2 separate regions of the Homo sapiens genome follow, and region 1 is linked to region 2. Evidence: promoter capture Hi-C in human tissues and cell types (Jung and others, 2019). All regions are on one chromosome and are shown on one strand. Each heading gives the region's core, a stretch centred on a gene start or on the middle of the fragment in contact. The rest is flanking DNA. Distances are from core to core; before and after follow the strand shown. Region 1 holds the start of CCR10 (C-C motif chemokine receptor 10). Region 2 overlaps EZH1 (enhancer of zeste 1 polycomb repressive complex 2 subunit).

What was found. The method cuts DNA at HindIII sites, captures the fragments that hold promoters and counts their contacts. A contact is called where the count stands out against the background at its distance.
Region 1: the fragment with the promoter of CCR10 here is called in contact with a fragment that was not itself captured in region 2 in 1 of the 25 tissues and cell types used here (mesendoderm cells).

What each region holds. Positions count from the first base shown.
Region 1 is chr17:42,680,433-42,683,148 of GRCh38, forward strand. CCR10 (C-C motif chemokine receptor 10) reads right to left here and starts at 1,411. Exons shown (of 2, transcript NM_016602.3): 1 at 1,368-1,411; 2 at 1-185. The coding sequence starts at 1,391. CNTNAP1 (contactin associated protein 1) reads left to right here and starts at 2,099. Exons shown (of 24, transcript NM_003632.3): 1 at 2,099-2,464. The coding sequence starts at 2,398. RefSeq lists enhancers at 1-413, 1,632-2,250, 2,194-2,243, 2,504-2,553 and a silencer at 799-1,093. The HindIII fragment of the contact is 6,302 bases long and covers 1-2,716 here.
Region 2 is chr17:42,717,522-42,720,221 of GRCh38, forward strand. It overlaps EZH1 (enhancer of zeste 1 polycomb repressive complex 2 subunit), which reads right to left. Exons shown (of 21, transcript NM_001991.5): 8 at 1,584-1,686; 9 at 933-1,096; 10 at 455-546. Among named protein-coding and RNA genes, the nearest start is that of MIR6780A, 11 kb to the left of the region's middle. The HindIII fragment of the contact is 8,991 bases long and covers 1-2,700 here.

The sequences.
Region 1 (2,716 bases), core at 161-2,660, 37 kb before region 2:
CGGGCTGCCAGGTGGGTGGCCAGGACCAGGCCATTGCCGGCCAGACCCAGCGCAGCCACGGTCAGGGAGACACTGGGTTGGAAGGCCCGGCTGAAGGCCTGGACATCGGCCTTGTAGCAAAGCTCCGGCAGTGGCTCAGCCGAGTATGCGTCCTCTTCATCCCCAGAGTAATGGCCCCAGGAAACCTGGGAGGGTCAAATGAGAGGCGGGATCTTATGAGACACATCTGACCACACAACTCCCCCGCCCACACTTGCCTTCCAAGCTGAGAGCTCCTGTGTGGCCAGATGTAACAGTACACGGGGAGACATAAGCTCTTCTCCAGACTCTTCCTAGCACACCTTCAGCAGGCCTTGGCTTCCCTTGCACCCCTCCTACCTCTGCTTCCAGCTTCCTGGGTGACCTTGAGCAAGCCACTTGCTCTTTCTAGACCTCAGTTACCTAACCTGTAATGTTGAGATTATAAATCCTGACCAGCCCACCTCTCAAGGTTTGCTGTGAAGATGGCAATATGGAAAATAATGGATGGGGAGAACCTGTGTTCTCCAAAGGCCATAATACAAAGTTTGTATTATTATTATTATTTATTATTATTATTATTGGAGACAGAGTCTTGCTCTGTCGCCCAGGCTGGAGTGCAGTGGCACGATCTCGGCTCACTGCAACCTCCGCCTCCGGGTTCAAGAGATTCTCCTGCCTCAGCCTCCCAAGTAGCTGGGACTACAGGCGCCCACCACCACGCCCAGCTAATTTTTGTATTTTTAGTAGAGATGGGGTTTCACCATGTTGGCCAGGATGGTCTCGAACTCCTGACCTCAGGTGATCCGCCCACCTTGGCCTCCCAAAGTACTGGGATTACAGGCCTGAGCTACCACGCCCAGCCCAAAGTTTGTATTATTAATAAATCCTACAGCTTCAGTTCCCTTTGCAGCGCCCTCTCCTGGAAGGATGCCCATATGCAGGCTTTGCCTCAGACCTGAGCCCTGGACTCCAACCTCCGTCTGGAGTGGGTTTCTGTTTCTCTTCTTTCCCTTCCATACCCACCTTCCCTGTACCTCCAATACCAGCACACTGAACCACTCATGCCAAGGGGGTCTCCAGGGTTGGGACTCAGGTTTTCAGGGCCCAGGTGGGACCCTGGACCTCTAGGTTCAACCCGCCTTTCCCCTCAGCCCTAGTCCCTGTCCCACAACCCCAGCCTCACACCACCAGCCCATTTATCTGGAGGACCCCTAGTCTGAGACAGCGCCAAGAATCCTGAATAAGCCATAGGATGGCAGAGGCCCATTGCCAGGTGGGGAATCCCATTCCTTCCCTGTCTCCTCCCTCTCTGTAACCCTTCTCCCCCTCCCTGCCCCCACTCCCACCTGCTCTGTGGCCTCCGTCCCCATCTCTGGCTACACAGGTTTCTGAGGTATAGCCACAGGGGGTAGAAGTTAAACTACTAGCGGGACAGGAAGGAAGAGGCGGGGAGAGGGGCCGAGAGGGAGGTGGGGATTAGGGTCTACGGGGTCACTTTCCCATTCCACCTCCTCCAAAAGACTTCACTCTCTTGTGCAGGATCTGGATTTTACGAAAAAAAAAAAAAGAAGAAGAAAGGAAGGAAAGAGGAAAGAAAGAAAGAAAGAAAGAAAAAAAGGAAGGAAAGAAAGAAAAAAGAATGAACGAAAGAAAGAAAAAATAATTTACTGTCTTTGTCAGTGAAGAAAGAACGGGCTTCGGAATATAATCATTTGCTGTGTGATATTGACTAAGTTTCTTGACCTCTCTGAGCCTGAGGTTTTTCATCTGCAAAGTGGAGTAGGGCAAAAATGCTAAATTCACAGTGCCCAGCACCACTCCTAGAGCATAATTTGCCTTCCGAAAATGTTAAGATTCTTTTACTTACCCTTCATTCCATTTCCAGGCACCCCTCCCCCAAACCACCTCCCTTTTCTTGAAATTTTCAGGATGCTTCTGGCCCTAGGTTCCCTGTCCTCACTCCTGTGGCCCTAGTCCCGGGCAGCCTCGGGTTACTTGGGGTTTTCCCGGTGGCGAGAGGCTCTCTACCCCCGCCCTTTCGCAGCAGGGCTGAGGCACGCGCTTGCGCGGGGTCCGGGAAACCGGCGCGTGCCAGGAGACAGAGGCTGGGGAAGGGGGGAGGTGAGAGGAAAGAGGGTGGAAAGGAGAGGATAGAGAGAGAAGAGCGGAGGACCAGGAACCAGAGAGAGAGAGAGAGAAAAGAGAGAGGAGAGACAGAGCGCTTGGGGGCGAAAGGAGAGAGGGAGGGAAGGGTGGGTAAGGAGGAGAGAGCGGTCTGCTGCAAACCCCAGGAGGAGAGCTTGGAGCCCAAGCCAGAACTCGAGCCCTAGCCGGAGCCGTTCACAGGGAGGCGGCTGCCGGGACCGTCAGCCCTGCATGATGCATCTCCGGCTCTTCTGCATCCTGCTCGCCGCGGTCTCAGGAGCCGAGGGCTGGGGCTACTGTGAGTGTTGGGCTTGGAGGCAGGTGGGGTTGGGCCCAGGAGTCCAGAGCCTGCAGGGCGGCCCCGAACCGCATTGCGGCTGGGTGGTCGCGGGTCCTTCCCGGCCGGCGCGCGCCCGCTGGCTCTCATCTTTTCCTGCCTCTCCCCCGCGCTCCGCATTGCAGCTCTGAGGCTGCCGCGCGCGCCCGGGGCTGGGGCTGGGCTCTGGGAAGAGGATGAAGTCAGCGGGCAGGGATTTGGGGTTGGGATCCA
Region 2 (2,700 bases), core at 36-2,535:
GACCATTTATGCTGCTTCTTAAGGTCTGTCCATCAGGGAACGGTCCATCTGGTTGATCACAACAAGACATCAGCATCATCACGTGCTATTCGTCTCATAGTTATATGCATTTATAACAAGATAGCAAAGAAACTAGAGTGTGTACCCACCCCCCCAGCATACACTTTGCTCCAATTCTAACAATACAGTTTTAGGCTCTGAAATCTAAGCAGATGATATTTAGAGCAGGCAAGCCTTTAATGATCTTCGAATCTGCACTCCATCAGACTAACTTTATAGTGCTACCATGTCTGGGGAGTTCCTTAAGAGCGGTCCCACAGTAACTGGGGAGCTCCTTAAGAGCAAAAGCCATGTTTTATTTGTGCTATATGACCCCCAGAGTGCTGTGTACTGGCTCACGTGGCTTGTGTTCCCAGAATGAAGTTAATAATGCCAGAACAGCTTAAGAACATACCAGCAAAAGGAAGCAGTCTGTGCCACATGGTTCTGGTTCAATCTTGATTTCTTTATTCTTGCGTTTATATACATTAGGGGTGGCATGAAAAGCTGGAAAACAAAAACTGTCTTGTTGCCAGTGGTCTATCCACTTGACAAGATGGGGAGAAACAAAAGTGAATTAGAGAGCTATTGTAGGAGTTAGAATTCGATATAAACGGCTACCATCAGGGTGCACAAAATTCAGTCATTTCTGACATCAACACAATGCTTTCAAAGCTAAGAGGTACTGAGGGACAGATAAGTTGCTAGTTAGTCTGTCCCTATCATGCAAAGCATGTTGCACTATAATTGAGCAAGGGAAAATAGAACTGGCCCTTTGTAAAACGTTAGAACAGAAGCCAGGAACTCTATACGAGAAACCAGAACAAAGAGAAGGAAATGGTGGCTGGGGATGGAAGAGAGGAGAGCATTTCAAACAGAGTAGCCCCACTCACGGTGAAGGAAGCAGTCGTATTTAAAGCAGCGCCGGCAAAAAAGTGTGTGGAAGGAGTGCAGAGATTGCTCCCGCTGCACAGACTTGGCATTGGGGCCATCGATGTTGGGTGTGCACTGAGGGGGAAGTGCATTGGGGTCTGACATCTCTGTTAGTTCTCGATACCTATTTAAGAAAAGAGAGATAAGAGTTCCTCCGAGGAACTGCCTCCACTGAGGAAATACAGATTGGGTACTGACAGTAGCTCACCTACGGTCTGCCAAGGGAGGATGGGTGTTTTTTATAGGTCTGGTTGATAAGAGAATGGTAGATAACTAGAGTGGGTCCACCATTGTAATTATGCTGGGTTGGGCAAATGTTGGAAAGTAAGGGGAGGGAAGGATTTGTTAAGATGGTGCTGGAGTTAACTCTCCAGAAAAATGGCAGAGTAAATGTTCTCTGCCCAGACTCACTCAAAAGCCAGTATACGATGACCCTTAATATAGTAAGGGGGGCATTTAGAGGTAATTGAGTAAGCAAGAAATAATCAAATTGCGGGCAAATCATAATGCCCTTACCATAAACAAAGCTTTTTACTAACCAAAAATTAGGAGGGAATAAAGGTTTTGTCCGAGCACTCTGTATATGGCCTAAGTGGGACAGCTTTCCCTACCTCTCCTTCATGTCATCTGGGACACCATTCTCAGGGAACATTGAGGCAATTGCACTGAAGATCATGTCATTTGGGAACTGTTTCTTGGAACTCTTTTTGTTGCCTGAATTGGAAATGATAAAAAGCTCCTGAGTGCGATTATCAGAACACGTAAACAAATCTGTGTGATCTTTTTTCCTTTTGTCATAGCATTTTGATTACAGCTGCTTTGTTAACCTAACCACTGATTGTTTGGAGATATATAAACATCAGTGCTATCTGGACTTATCTGATATATGCTACCAGTAAATAAGGAAGTTAGAGTAGTCTACATATTAACAACAAAATCCACAGTCCCAATTAGAATCTGGATGTGAGGTGGCTCACGCCTGTAATCCCAGTCAGTACTTTGAGAGGCCGAGGGGAGCGGATCACTTGAGGCCAGGAGTTTGAGACCAGCCTGGCCAACATGGTAAAACCCCAACTCTACTAAAAATACAAAACTTAGCTGGGCATGGTGGTGCATGCCTATAGTCCCAGCTACTTAGAAGGCTGACACACAAGAATCACTTGAACCAGGGAGGTGGAGGTTGCAGTGAGCCGAGATTGTGCCACTGCACTCCACCTTGGGTAACAGAGCAAGACTGTGTCTCAAAAAAATAATAAATAATAGATTTTAAAAATAAAAATAAGAATTTGGAGGTGAAAAGAGTGTTCATAGAGAGGCCTGAACATAGAAGAATCCTATCATGAAGTGGATGCTGAAGAACTACACTGATACTATAATTATGATACAATAAAAGAGAATACACTATGTCCCTGGACATATAGTATAATTAAACTATTAAATTTTAAATTAAACATTAGTGACATGGAAAAGTACTCATAAGATTAAATAAAAAGGGATATAAAATTTGATATATACATATATATAAATTGGCATGATCCCAATTTCACATGAGACATATAATTAGAAATGAATAGCAATGATTATTCTATCAGTTCTTCTACTTTCTTCTTCACCCAAGTCACAGCTATCTGAAGCTATCACTTAATGATCATGTTCTCCTTTTAAGTGAACCAACAAGAAGCACCAACAGCCTTTAATAGGCAACAAATCTTTCCAGTTCTTCCTTCT